Linked DNA regions of Homo sapiens: all the other regions are linked to region 4. Evidence: promoter capture Hi-C in 16 types of primary human blood cells and fetal thymus (Javierre and others, 2016). All regions are on one chromosome and are shown on one strand. The core of a region is centred on a gene start or on the middle of the fragment in contact, and the rest is flanking DNA. Distances in the headings are between cores, read along the strand shown. Region 1 overlaps TNFRSF19 (TNF receptor superfamily member 19). Region 2 has its middle 6.4 kb from the start of MTMR6. Region 3 overlaps NUP58 (nucleoporin 58). Region 4 holds the start of PARP4 (poly(ADP-ribose) polymerase family member 4).

What was found. Contacts are between HindIII fragments. The CHiCAGO score rates a contact against its expected background, and 5 or more counts as called.
Region 1: a fragment that was not itself captured here is called in contact with the fragment with the promoter of PARP4 in region 4 in 1 of 17 cell types (activated CD4 T cells); the score reaches 6.2 in activated CD4 T cells.
Region 2: a contact is called between a fragment that was not itself captured here and the fragment with the promoter of PARP4 in region 4, in 2 of 17 cell types (neutrophils and monocytes). The highest score is 8.0, in neutrophils.
Region 3: a fragment that was not itself captured here is called in contact with the fragment with the promoter of PARP4 in region 4 in 1 of 17 cell types (neutrophils); the score reaches 8.2 in neutrophils.

The regions. Positions count from the first base shown.
Region 1 is chr13:23,577,209-23,580,500 of GRCh38, reverse strand. The region is part of intron 1 of TNFRSF19 (TNF receptor superfamily member 19); the gene reads right to left. Among named protein-coding and RNA genes, the nearest start is that of TNFRSF19, 8.4 kb to the right of the region's middle. RefSeq lists silencers at 521-580, 781-1,260. The HindIII fragment of the contact is 3,323 bases long and covers 1-3,092 here.
Region 2 is chr13:25,292,013-25,295,819 of GRCh38, reverse strand. No RefSeq gene overlaps it. Among named protein-coding and RNA genes, the nearest start is that of MTMR6, 6.4 kb to the right of the region's middle. The HindIII fragment of the contact is 3,928 bases long and covers 165-3,807 here.
Region 3 is chr13:25,313,105-25,316,798 of GRCh38, reverse strand. NUP58 (nucleoporin 58) reads right to left here. Exons shown (of 16, transcript NM_014089.4): 5 at 3,048-3,185; 6 at 1,332-1,442. Among named protein-coding and RNA genes, the nearest start is that of NUP58, 13 kb to the right of the region's middle. The HindIII fragment of the contact is 3,842 bases long and covers 1-3,209 here.
Region 4 is chr13:24,510,871-24,514,360 of GRCh38, reverse strand. PARP4 (poly(ADP-ribose) polymerase family member 4) reads left to right here and starts at 1,583. Exons shown (of 34, transcript NM_006437.4): 1 at 1,583-1,655. All of the region lies in intron 1 of LOC105370117 (a long non-coding RNA gene), which reads right to left. RefSeq lists a silencer at 1,426-1,585. The HindIII fragment of the contact is 3,630 bases long and covers 1-2,605 here.

The sequences.
Region 1 (3,292 bases), core at 182-2,681, 930 kb after region 4:
ATATCTGATCATGAAATGACAACACTAAGAAATATCGTTTGCATGAGGTATGTTTAACAATAACTGTTTCCTGTTTACATAAAGAAATTGTTTGGTTTTGTAGTCAAAGAAACTGTCATGGGGTAAAAACTACGTCTTCATACATATCTTGGGTTAAACTGTTTCAGTTAAAAGAAACACTGAACAATGGTGATGATTTTGTATGCATATTGAGTCCTTTATTAACATGCAAACAAATGACATGGGTTTCTTACAATAGTGAACGGAGACTGGATGACTAGTGCACTACCATCAAAACAGATCACAGAATTTTGATCCGCCAAACTTGATCTCCAGGAGTATATTAGCCAAATTTCTGTCCCATGAGATGGCATTACACGCATTGTAAGAGCTGGCTTTCTCACTCTCTAAATCTATCACAGGCTCTACTCATCAATATACTAATAATTCCTGCTGAACTCTAAGGAACTCTTTCCCACAGAAGGAATATACCCTGGGCCGCTCACAGACAACGCTCTCCCGCCGCTGGCGCTGGTCCGGGATGCGGCCCCGAGACCCCTGCAGCCGCGCGCTGGCTCAGGGGACCTCCGCAGGACGCGGGCGGGCGCCGGGGCCGGGTCGGGCTTGGGCAGAGTGACAGGCTCCCAGTCGTGAGCCTCACAAGCAGATCTATTTACAATATCCCGGATAGGAGTCCAGGTCGCGTCGCTCGCGTCGCCCGCGGGGACCCGGCGTGAATTCACACGCTCCCCTCCCACCGCCTCGCCGCCTGTCACGGCCCCGAGACCCGGTCAGCCCCTTCGGGGGTTCCCTTCGCCGCGCAGTACTCCGCCCGTGAGCAGCCCCCGCCTGCGCTCCTCCCTCCCTAGGGCGGCCGCCTCCACTCCCGGCTCCCACCCAGCGGGGATCCACCAGGGCGAGGGCTGAAGACCTCGCGGGACGCCGCGCGCCGGGGACAGCGACGCACCTACCTTCCCAGCCACCTGGGAGGCTGCAGGTCCGGGCCGGAGCCCGAGGCTCAGGGGCGCGCGGAGCAGTCCTGGTTAAGGCGCAGGGCGCGGGGTTGCATGGGGGTCCAGTCCAGCGTGCACACCGTGCACCTCCCAGCGCAGGGCTCCGCGCTCTCCCGTAGCCCGGCAACGGCCGCCACCCCAGAGCCCCGCCCACTAGGAGCCCCGCTCAGGGCACCGCCCACCCGGGCCCCGCCCTCACCGCGGCTCTCGCCGTGGCTCCGCCCCCGTCCAGAGCCCCGCCCCCAGCGCACACTGCGTCAGCCGGACTTGCTCTGCAGCTGGGTTCTTTGGAGGCCCCCACTCCGCGGCTACTGAAGCGGATGAGTGTGAGGCTGACTGGGGGCTTGGGGATGGGGGACCGGAGACCACCAAGAACATGGCTGTGTTGGGAAACTTTCCTTCAGAGCAGAGAGGGAGGGTTCCTTTCCGCCGGGGTGTTCCCCACCTTTCAGCCTTTCCCGCGTGGGCCCGCATCCCAGCCAGAGGGGATACGGCGGCCAGGTCTGCGCTGCTGCGCCTGAGCTCAGGTCGGCAGAGGTCGCAGACCTCGGCTCCTCAGCCGGCAGGGACTCGCAGGTGCGCGTTCCCACGGACGCCTCCCGGGGAAGCCCGAGTTCGCCTCCTGCAGGCCGGGAAGCACTCGCCCCGAGACGGCCGCACCCTCGCAGCGGAAGGGCGTCTGCACCACAGCTGTAGCACCAGCGCGTGCGAGGCGGGGCCAGGGCCGGGGACTCACTGGGCAGTTTTGCTGAAAGGGTTAAGAGAATCGCGTCTGTAAAATACTTTTCCACCAGTAGAATGCTGTAAAAGTGCAAGCAGTATTGTTCTATTCGTTCACCCAAGATACGGTGCATGACTTTGGTACCAAGGCATCCACCGTTTCTCACGTGTTGGTTTTGACTTCCCACTCAACTGCACTGTGTGGATGGACCCAAGTCCCTGTTTCTTGTCTATACCCCAAGGCCCACTGGAGCCCCTCCATCAGTATTTGTTGAATGAATGAGTGAATAGGTTGTTGTATTTAATTGCCCAAAAGCACAGCTTGTGATCCCAGGCTTCCAACGGCGTAGCACTATACTAGGTACTTGTGAACAATGTTAAAAATATTATTCCCGATGTCACACCTTGATAGAGGTTGTATATTTCAAATCTAACACATCCAGAATATAGATCCCAATAACGACTTATTGGTAAACGATTTCCAAATGATGTACGTTATCTAATTTGAACCTCAAGGCAAGTGTGTGCTTCCCTGTCCCATCTCCCAGCGGCTACCCGATCAGACTCCAGCCCTCAGTGCACATCACTACCATATTCATTCCCACATCCCGCTGAACTTCTTTATCTGTTTCCTTCCCCAGCTACACCTGGATCTCCCGAGGGCATCTCCTAATTCCTTGATATCCCGGGGCCTAGCACACGATGGATACTCAGCACTTCTAAGCTGAGTTACTGCATCTTCCTTTGCAAGGTCTCACGCAGTCCCCCATCGTCCTCTCTTTGTCTTGGTGCCCACCACCTCCTTCACCACCATGCAGACCCTCCCCACCCCTCACCACAGCACTGCCTCGGTCATCAACCCCGCTTCCCGCCTTTCATCACTGCTACTGTCAGGCTGAAGAGTCACAGGAGGTTCCTCACTGTAAAGAATGGATTCTGCGCTCCTTAGATTAGCATTCCGAGATGTCCAGGTGCAGCCCTACACCTATTTCCAGCCTTGCCTCGCCTCTGGAGCAGGCTTTATAAACTGCGCCGCGTGGCCCTTCCTTTGCTCTCTACTTCCTCTTCGTGCTCTCCCATCTTACCTCTGAGCTTTACCTACTTGTCTTACTCCAGTTTCAGCACCTCGCTCAAAAGCCACGGCTCTCACGAGTTTTCCCTCAATTCTGAGCCTATGTATTTCCTTGCTCCAAGGTTTGTGGCAATTTAGCACTTGCCCATTGTGTCCTGTATCATAAGATTCTGTGTACTAACTTTCTTCTTCAAGGAGTTAAAAACACTTTCAGAGAAGGGGCATATTTTGTTCCGATTTGTATCTCTGACAGTATCAATCATTCAAATAAATGTTCAACCAAAGCTTTCTGAGTGGAATTGAATCTGCCAGCTCAGGAACTACCTTCTCTGACTTCAACCAAATGTTCTTCTTCTCTCTGACCTCCTTTTGTCCTTAGAGACAGTAGTAACACATTACTCAGTTCATTAGTTCTTGAATCATTTTACGTGTTTTGACTGATCTTCCCGGTTAGCCTGTTAGCTTACAACAGAGAGAGAACCTATTG
Region 2 (3,807 bases), core at 879-3,378, 780 kb before region 4:
AAAAGGTTTTGTCAAGTAAGACCTGATGCTCGGGGAGCCAAAACAGGAGCTAGAAAGCAAGCAGGAAGAAAGTGGGCCAAGACGGTCAAAACAGATTCTCCTACCCCGTCCCACCTCCATCCCACTGTCATCAAACCTGGGTGGTATAGGGAAAAGGAGAAGCTTTGAACTGGATACATTTTGAAGTATATATGTCAGATTACTCTAAAATATGAGAGAAACAGGTACTTCTCCAGGATCAACTCAAGCTCCTATTGAGGAGAGGTGAAGAGACAGCCAGCAAAGCAGGCTTGAAGGGTAGCGGTGGAGCAAAAGAAAGATACTGTCTGCTCGCACCCCACAGAACCCAGTGTTCAATAAAGTGGTCATGTAGACTAGAGCATGACTAACCACTGTGTCGGCCAATGTCAATAGCAAGTGCAAAAACCCAGACTCAGATACCACTTGGCTAAATCATCAAGGTTTACTTATCTAAAGGATTTAGAGAGAAGGACACTTAGAAAAAAAAATGGCTAGTAACCTTTTTAAAGACAGAATGAGGAGCCAGTCTCTGAACCCCTAGATCCTGAAAGAGTAAGCATCACACCAACCTTATGGAAACATAATACTAGTATGTCTTCCTCCAGCCCAGCATGAGTATAACCTGGACATGTGCACTTCCTTGGGCCAGGTGTACCTCCTCAATTGCAGAGGTGCAGAGTACATAATGTGATCACTTGAATACAGTATACAGTGCATTCAGACAAATTTCATCCTGAGACAAGTTCAGTCTCCCCAAATGAACACAGCCTGATCCAAGCACATTTCTGAACTCCATGGTGAAGATCTAGAATGAGGATCGACAGGTATCTAGATATTTCTGGGAACTCTAGGATTTATTCTGCTTAACATGTACATACACACAACTATTATTTATTGAGCATTTATTTATTATTATTATTTTTAGAGATGGGGGTCTTCCTCTGTCACCTAGGCTGGAGTGCAATAGTGCAATCATAGCTCACTGCAGCCTCGAACTGCTGGGCTCAAGTGAGCTGAGTGAGCTCTGATTGCTCCTGCCTTAGCCTCCTGAGTAGCTGGGACTATAGGCAAAGGCTGCTATATCCAGCTATTGAGCACTTATCGAGGCCAGCTACTATGCTAAGTACTTCTGTTCATTATTTCATTAACCTGTACAAATAACTCAATGGATAACATAATGATAAGTACCACTATTTACAGATAAGGACATCAAGAGTTAGAGAAGTTAAATAATTTGACTAAATTCACAGCTAGAAAGTGGCAGAAATGAGATCTGAATTCAGATATCTTTGATTTCACAGAGAATTCTAATCATAGACTTCACCTTCTTCCATAAAACTCCTAGAAATAAAAGCCAAGAAACGAAATCAAGTGAAATATTTTTGCTCTTTTAACGATTTATGCTTACTTAAGAAGCACCAAGATTAGGAATTGTGATTGCTTTTATAATATTCCATTCGCTGGTAAACAGTAAACATAATTATAAAAGCATCCACTATTTACAATAGCAAAAGACTTGGAACCAACCCAAATGCCCATCAGTGATAGACTGGATAAAGAAAATGTGGCACATATACACCATGGAATACTATGCAGCCATAAAAAGAATGAGTTCATGTCCTTTGCAGGGACATGAATGAAGCTGGAAGCCATCATTCTCAGCAAACACACAGGAGCCGCAAAACAAACACCGCATGTTCTCACTCATAAGTGGGAGTTGAACAATGAGAACACATGGACACAGGGAGGGGAACATCATACACTGGGGCCTTTCAGGGGTTAGGGGGCAAGGGGAGGGAGAGCATTAGGACAAATACCTAATGCATGCAAGGCTTAAAATCTAGATGGGCCGGCAGGGTGCGGTGGCTCACGCCTATAATCCCAGCACTTTGGGAGGCGGAGGCCGGCGGGTCACGAGGTCAGGAGATCGAGACCATCCTGGCTAACAAGGTGAAACCCCATCTCTACTAAAAATACAAAAAATTAGCTGGGCGTGGTGGCACGTGCCTGTAGTCCCAGCTACTCAGGAGGCTGAGGCAGGAGAATCGATTGAACCCAGGGGGCAGAGGTTGCAGTGAGTCGAGATCATCATGCACTGCATTCCAGCCTGGGCGACAGAGCAAGACTCCATCTCAAAACAACAACAACAACAACAACAACAAAACAACCTAGATGATGAGTTGATAGGTACAGCGAATCACCATGCCACATTAATACATATGTAACAAACCTGCACATTCTGCACATGTATCCCAGAACTTAAAGAAAAAAAAAAAAAAATGCAAGACAATAAATTTCTGTTGTTTAAGCCTCCCCCCCAAAAAAAGCACCAATATTTTATTGTTAAATGTAAAATATTTTCTTACATAATAATAAAAATATCAAATATCTCTTGTGCCTTTTATAGGGGCACTTTTCATTTTTTTTTTAGTGGTGTAAAAATAAGCATTAAACATTACAGAGAAACAAATGCAGAAAACTCTGATTACATGGTGGCTCATGCCTGTAATCCTAGCACTTTGGGAGGCCGAGGTGGGCAGATCACTTGAGTACAGGAGTACGAGACCAGCCCGGCCAACATGGCGATACCCCGTCTCCACTAAAAAATACAAAATTAGTTGGGTGTGGTAACGCACACCTGTAGTCCCAGCTACTCAGGAGACTGAGGCTTGAACCCAGGGGGCAGAGCTTACGGTGAGCTGAGATGGCGCCACTGCACTCCAGCCTGGGCAACAGAGTGAGACTCTGTCTCAAAAAAAAAAAAAATCTGATTCCTCATTATTTCAAACCGTAATAGTAGTTTCTTTCATGCTTTTTGTGAATTTTAACTTTCAATTTTTTGTGCAAAAAAACTCCGTCTTTAATTGCAAAGTCAATTAAGAAAATGATATTTTCTTAAAATCATCAAATATTAGTCATGTCACTATTTTAAGTTGTTTTTGTAGGCACATGTAAGAAAAAACCTGATGTCTCCTAGAAGTTGGATGATAAAGGAAATTATAAATATATACATTAAAACAAAATTAATTAAGTTACAGATATGTCTCCTTAAAAAGACAGCATAGCTTCTATACCACATCTTGATATGAACCTAGCAGATGAAATGGCATATCTAAAGGCAGAATAGGGCCCTTAGAGGGAGGATTGTTCAATAATGAGGCCTAGTTTAGGGAAATCTAATATTTCCCTCAAATAATGAATCTTCAGGGCTGCCTCCAGAGGCTTGCCTGGCCCAGAGCCCCTCCTGCCTTTTCTTGTGGTTGGTACATCCTGATAGGCTGGCTGATGCATCAAGATCTTTGCTGAATGGCAACAGCCTCTCCTATCATGCAGCTAGTTTCCCCTGCTCTGAATTCATGCTAACTAAGCAATCTTCTCAACTGTAATGTGACCTCCCCCCACGCTTTATAGGAAGAGAACATGCTGACTTTCATTCCCATCTGCTTTCTTGTGGTCAATGATTACACTGGTATTTTGATATTCACCAGTCTAACTAACCCTAAAAACAAGTCTCTTCCTGATTATCTTCCTTCAGATTAGTTTGTAAGTTGCAGTGGACTACTCAATTGAATTGTAACAGTATTAAGTGTGCTCTTGGCATAATTGATGAGATCAGGCAGCAGAAAATGCTTAATCTGATGAATTTTATTGTATGTCAACATTTTTAAAGGGAAGGATAGGAATGTAGGAACACAGGTGCATATTGAATCCTCTGAAACTGGATCGTGTGCTTTATAAATATTACTAACAATAAAACAAATATTAGTGAATGAACCTCTTCTCTTT
Region 3 (3,694 bases), core at 39-2,538, 800 kb before region 4:
GATTAATTTCTTACATTTATCTTACTCTTCTGCCTTAGCCTGCTCTTTGAGCCTAAAAACAATTATAATAGAGAAGTACTCTCATGCTTAAAATAAAAGTAATAGAAGTGGTACCAAGCTATTCCACTTGAGTAAACAAATAAGCTGCTAAGGCTGCTTTCCTAATTATGGAGTTGCTACAGAGAAAACTAAGTAAAAACAAACTTTGTTTAGAAATTTGTCAATTTTCACTGAAAGAGAAATCTAAACTTTGTAAAAGTTTAAAAAGGTTTTACCAACTTTAAAATAGTAATTCACCCTAGAATAGTATCTCCTTATAATAAAACCTGTGTCCAGTTTTTTAAAAAAAAAGTCATATAGATACACAGATACTATTTCACAGCTTCATCCATTTATCTTTCTTCAGAGAAGTTCAATATGTATATATATACCCTAGTATATATGGTATATATTCTAGTGAAACATGCTTTCATCAGAAGCAGAAGAGATGGTGCAAAACAAAGTAACACAAAAAACAATGAAAACATTTTCAAAATGAATTTGGATTAGCAAATTTTTAAAACCAAGATTCAACGTGGCAAGGGCACAGCAAGAAAGGTATTTTCATACTGGTTAGGGGGTAAACTGGTAAAATCTTTCTGGGAAAGCGATTTCACAAACTATACACTAAGAGTCTCCAAAATATCCCTCTCTTTAAGCCAATGATCCAATTTCCAGGTATTTTCCCTAAGAAATAACCAAAAATATAAACAAGCATTGATAATAAAAGGAGACACCTACATGTCTGGCTCTGCTAGGGTTTTACAAATAGTAACCCTCAAACCATTTAACAGATAAGGAAAAACCAAAGCACATAATATAAGTAACTTCAATAAGGTCAGAGAGCTTATAAGCAGTTGAGCCAGGATCTGAACCCGGGCAATTCCACTCCAGAGCAGACACTCTTAAACTACTATATTATGTTGCCTTTTTAGATAAATGCCCAGTGTTTTACTTCCCAAAGTAAAACATCTGGAAATAAACATCTAACAAGAGAACAATGGTTGACTAACTTATCCATCCATAAAACTGATATTAAGCAGCATTAAAATATTTAAAAAGAGTTACTGACAGACAAATGCTTCTGATGTTAGATAAGAACAGACTACAAAACAATACTGCATATGTATCATGATCCCTATTAAAAAATACATATTCGTATACACATTAAGATAGCTAACTGTTACTACTAAATATATAACTGCTAATCTTCCACACAAAGGAATTTTGAGCAACCTAGACATTCCCTCAACAGAACTGTTAAAACATAAAGTTACAACAGCATTACTTACTCTTTTTATCTGAGGAGCTACTGAAATCTATACCACCAAGGCCTTCATTGCCTGCAGTTGAAGTAGCTGCTGTAGTTCCCAAAGTCAACCCTAAAGCATTCTGTCCAAGTCCTATAAATAAAACATAACTTATAAATTCCATCAAAAGACTACAACAATTTCCCCTTACTGATCAAAGGACTCTAATGCTTTTAAAGTTGGATCCTAGATTTTCTTCATATTTGATTTAGGCAAACAACAAGAAACAAGCCTGGAGATGTTTTGGCCAAAGACTGATAACCTTTCTTGAATTCGATGGCATATGCAGTTTGGATGATGCGATTTTTCATTATTACGAGGGCCAGAACATATATCAATTCAGTATGTAGGCACTCAATCTTCACTTGTTATAAAGGGGTTTTGTTACAGAGGGCTTTTAAACCCTCTCTACAAAAGCAGTTTCAGTTGGTGTATTTTCAGGTGAATACATCTTGTCTTACAAACACACTTTGGAACTACATACTTTTAAGATAATCTAGTGTGAATTTATAACATTTGAATATAACATGTATTGAATATAATTTCATACTCCCAAGTTCGTTTCACAAAACTTAAAAAAAAGTATTAGAATTCATTTGCTTATTTACATCTTCCCTCACTGACAAAAGGAATAAAAAGGACCAGACTACGGTTAATCATAAGTCATTAACGTACACTTGTGAGTCAAGCGCAAAATTTCAAGCATCTTGTGTTGATAAATCTGTATTTCTTTTTTATTGTTATTATTGTTTTTGAGATGGAGTTTCGCTCTTGTTGCCCAGGCTGGAGTGCAATGGCATGATCTCGGCTCACTGCAACCTCTGCCTCCCAGGTTCAAGTGATTGTCCTGCCTCAGCCTCCCAAACAGCTTGGATTACAGGCATGCATCACCATGCCCAGCTAATTTTGTATTTTTAGTAGAGATGCGGTTTCACCATGTTGGTCAGGCTGGTCTCGAACTCCTGACCTCAGATGACCCACCTGCCTTGGCCTCCCAAAGTGCTGGGATTACAGGTGTGAGCCACCGTGTCCAGCCTAATAAATCTATACTTTTATAAGACCATGCATTACTGAGCTAATACAATTTTTGTTCTTTTTAGAAGAGATGTTATCTCTAGATCAGTTTACTGACTCCTTAAACAGGCTCTTCTTTGTTTCCTTATCTGGTTAGTCAATATTGAGAAAGAGGAAAATGTATTTCTAAAATATGGCTAATAGGCTGGGTGCGGTGGCTTACGCCTGTAATCTCAGCACTTTGGGAGGCCAAGGCAGCCGGATCACTTGAGGTCAGAAGTTTGAGACCAGCTTGGCCAACATGGTGAACCCCCTCATCTCTACTAAAAATACAAAAATAAGCCAGGTGTGCTGGCACACACCTGTAATCCCAGCTACTCAGGAGGCTGAGGCAGGAGAATCTCTCTTGAACCCTGGAGGTGGAGGTTACAGTGAACCAAGATCACGCCACTGCACTCCAGCCTGGGTGACAGAGCAAGACTCCATCTCAAAATAAATAAATAAATAAATAAAATACGGTTAATACATCCAATTATGTATGAAAACCATCATTTTATAATTTAGTTTTCATATTTAAAGGAAAATATGCAGATTAAAAAGTGACCTGCTCAAAGTACTAAAATAAAAATAAGTACATTTAAATATAAATATTTACTATTCTGGAGAATAAATACCATCAATTACCTGATGTTCCTGTGTTTGTACTCTGGAAAAGTGAACCTCCCAAACCAGCTAAGGCTCCCCCTAAAGAGAGGCCTGTTGATGCAGTTGTAGTTGTGGCTGTTGTCCCACCCAAATTATTTAGAGTAAATCCTGTGGATGCTATAAAAAGAGAGATAGTAAGCTTTCAAAAGGCAACTTATTTAACAGCACCATAGAAAAATACAAATACGATGTTTTTAAAAACTGACATCCATGATAAAATTGGCTCTTTGGAAGAACTACTTGCTAAAAATTACATACTTAAGAATAAAGAGAAATAGCAGCTTCAAAGCAAAAATCTGCGACAGAAATAAGGGCTTTGAGGAGTATTAGAATGGTACCAGGTAACTGATTCTAGATAGCAATATTGTCTTCAACCCAGGCCACCAACTTCACCTTCATATTAAATGAATCATAAGCCAGGCAAGGTTTATGCCAAGTCTTTGTCTTCCCCTGTCACTAAATGCCTCCTTCAAAACAAAGTCAATATTAACAGCTTTACATTTTACCTCTCTAGCCCTCTCCCCTGCTTTGCTCTCTAAATAGGGACATCAAGACAGCCTCTCCTGCTTCAATGCTCAAAGCTGAATTTTCTTCTTTATAAATCAATAATTTCTGTAGTAAGGTGA
Region 4 (3,490 bases), core at 334-2,833:
GTACCCAGTGTTTAGCTCCCACTTACAAATTAGAACATGTGGTATTTGGTTTTCTGTTCCTTCATTAATTCACTTACGACAATGGCCTCCAGTTGCAGTCACGTTGCTGTGAAGGACATGATTCCATTCATTCTTTTTATGGCTTCGTAGTATTCCATGGTGCAAATGTACCACATTTTCTTTATCCAGTCCATTGTCGATGAGCACCTAAGTTCATTCCATGTCTTTCCTATTGTGAAGCGTGCTGTGACGAACATACTAGTGCATGTGTCTTTTTGGTAGAATGAGTTCTCTTGTTTTGAATATGTACCCAGTAATGGGATAGCTGGGTTGAATAGCAGTTCTGTTTTCAGCACTTTGAGAAATCTTCAAACTGGTTTCCACAGTGGTTCAACTAATTTACATTCCCACTGACAGTGTATAAGCATTTCCTTTTCAATAAAGCCTTGCCAGCATCTGTTGTTCCTTGACTTTTTAATAATAACCATTCTGACTGGTGTAAGATGGTATCTCATTGCAGTTTTAATTTGCACTTTTCTGATAATTAGTTATGCTGGGCTTTTTTTCATGCTTGTTGACCATTTGCACATCTTCTATTGCATATTCTCTATTTATTGAGACTTTGTTCTCCTGGTTGTTTCTTTCAGTTATTTTTCTATGTTTCCTTTCACTTTTTGTCCATGTTTAAGACAGTTTATTTGAAGTATTTGTCTAATAATTCCTATGTCTGTGCTTCCTCAGCTCAGGGACAATTTCTGTTCATTTCTTTTTTCCTTTGAATTGGCCATTTTTTCGCCTTTTTTTTTGCATGCCTCATAATTTTTTGTTGAAGATTGGACATTTTGAGCATTACGATGTGGTAACTCTAGGAATCAGTCTCTCTCCTCCCCCAGAATCTCTTGTTGTTTCTTAGACAACCCTATAGAGTAGGTTGTAATGATGAAACTTGGTAAATTACCTTGTCCCCAGCCCCCTTGGTAATAAATTGTGGAGTCAGGATTCAACCCCATACCCTTTCCACTGTATTCTCTACTCTATCCTTTCTATTCTCATTTTATTCAGTATCCTAAAAATCTGAATCTTCCCCATTGCTTTATTCCCATTTCAGTGAATCTCAGATCTGTATCTCCAGCCCCCTGCCTCTCTTGAATGGCAGATAAATATATTTCCAACTAGTTACACTGTCACGAATTTCAAACGCAGGAAGGCTTAAAGTAAATTTATTATCTCACTCTCCTGTTTCCACGAACTTTCCCGAAATTTTCTTCTTTCCCGGCCTTGTGAATCCCTTCCATTTCTCAGTTAAAGGACAGCACCATCCACCCACCTCTCTCAAAGCCGAGCTTTGTATTAATCCTCATTGACAAAATCCCTCCTGAAATATGAAACTGAAAGCCCTGAACCCTCCGGCTGATCTTGGAAGAGAAACCCCGCCAGAGGCCGGGGACCCGCTCCCCACCTGGCGGACCCGATTCCGGGCGCGTTCCGGCTATCGTCCCTGCTTGGGACGCTGCGCCCGCCTGGTGCGGGGCGGGGTTCCGGCGCAGTGGCGCCCGCCCAGCCCCGGGGGCAGGGAGAGCCTAGATTACGGAAGTACCGCGAGCAAGGAGCGCGGAATCGGGGAGCGTCCGGAGCTAGCTGGATCCTCTAGGCAGGTGCGTGGGCGCTGCGGGGTGGGGGGCTGCAAAGGTCCCTGTAGTCCTAGCCAGGAAGTGGCCCGCGTACTACTTTCCCGCCAGTGGCTGCACCCTTGCCCTGCGCGGCGTTGGCGCTGTGGGCCTGACGGCGCTGCTAGGCTCGGGAGTGGACTAGCTAGTGCAGCCAGCGCCCTCGGGGAGGGATATTGCGGTCGTTCCGCTCTGCCCCGCGGCGCAGCCCTGGTGACGAGAAACCGGGTGCGGTGGGGGGCGCCCACCGGAGCCGACAGTCACACCAAGTCTCCGCACCCCGTGCGGTGCGGTTCGCAGTAGCACGCGTTGTTTCTTGTTTCCAGTATGCCAAACGGCCTTCTTTCCTAAAGTTAGGTTTCGAATTGTGCAAAAAGTAAGGTGGTTTGGTGAGTAATCAGGAAGTACTATCTGACCTCGTGAGTCATTGGGAACACCGTGATAGAAACAATGTGTTTGTTGAGGTCCAAAGTTGAAAACCTCTAACTCAGTTAAGTAATTCCTGCTAGGAGGGCCGAATGGTTCACCCAGGGATCGAGTTGGTAGATCACAGGTTCTAGAAAACTAAGGCGCTGCTAAATATTCAAGCCCAAGCACTTTCAATTCTGGACTGCTGGATGACAACAATTATATGACAATATCCAAGCATAGTGCTATGATAAAGGGGAAGTTCGCTCTGAGATGTGCGTGTTGCAGACTCATTACATCTGACTTTATCATTTATTAAGTAAACATTAGGTCTTGTTTGTGTGCGTAGAGCTACTGTATATCATGTAGGAGTGAAATAAAAGTAGTACCTTTGTTGTTTAAGGGTTTAATAAACCCATTAGGGAGGTGCATTACTGATGCCATTTGAGTCCAAAATGCAAATAGTGTCAGAAGGCTTTTCTGTAATCCTGGGCTTTAATGGATACGTGAGAGTTTTTAGTAAGCAAGCTTTTATTGAATGCCCACTGTATATCAAAAGTGATCTTAGCGTGTGCTGACTCACACACTTCGGAAGGCGGAGGCTGTAGAATCAAGACTGCCCAGAAAGGGACTCCTCAGGGTTTTCCGAGAGGAGGAAATGCCAGTGGTAAAGACGAAGACCTGTGAAGCAGGAAGCCACTTGATTCCACCTACACCAATGGTTTATGGAGCAGCCAAGAGTTTGTGAGGAGGCGCGCTGAGGGTTTCTTAGGAATCGGGGCTGTTCCCTGCTGTCTTTGGGTGGAAGACACTCTGTGAATGTTATTTGGGGAAGAAGCTGGGAAGGGGGACAGGCTGGAGTGACTGTGCAGATTTGCCTTAGAGAATAACCAGCCCCTAGCCCAGTGTCCGCCACATCTCATATGTACGTAATCAGCGCTGATGAAAACATGAACTAACTCTGTGTTTAGAGAACACTTTGAAACAAGGAAGAACTAGTGGCGCATGTCGGTTAGGCGCTGTTAACCCAGAAGAGGGCTGGCATTTTACAGAGACTAGAGATGAATCTGTGGAAAGAGAGAAGTCAAGACCTGACTTGAGATTTCACGAAACCCAAAGTGCGCCTTTCCATACCTCCCACGCAGCCGCAGGTGCTAAGAACAGACCGCAGATTTATGTTTAAAATGTTTTTACTCTGGGCCGGGCGTGGCAGCTCACACCTGTAACCCCAGCACTCTGGGAGGCTGAGGCAGGAGGATGGCTTGAGCCCAGGAGTTTGTGACCAGCCTTGGCAACATAGTAAGAACCCTGTCTCTACCAAAATTAGCTGGGCATGGTGGTGCAGGCCTGTGGTCCCAGCTACTAAGTAGGCCGGGTGAAAGGATTGCTGGGAGGGAGGTCGAGGTTGCAGTGAG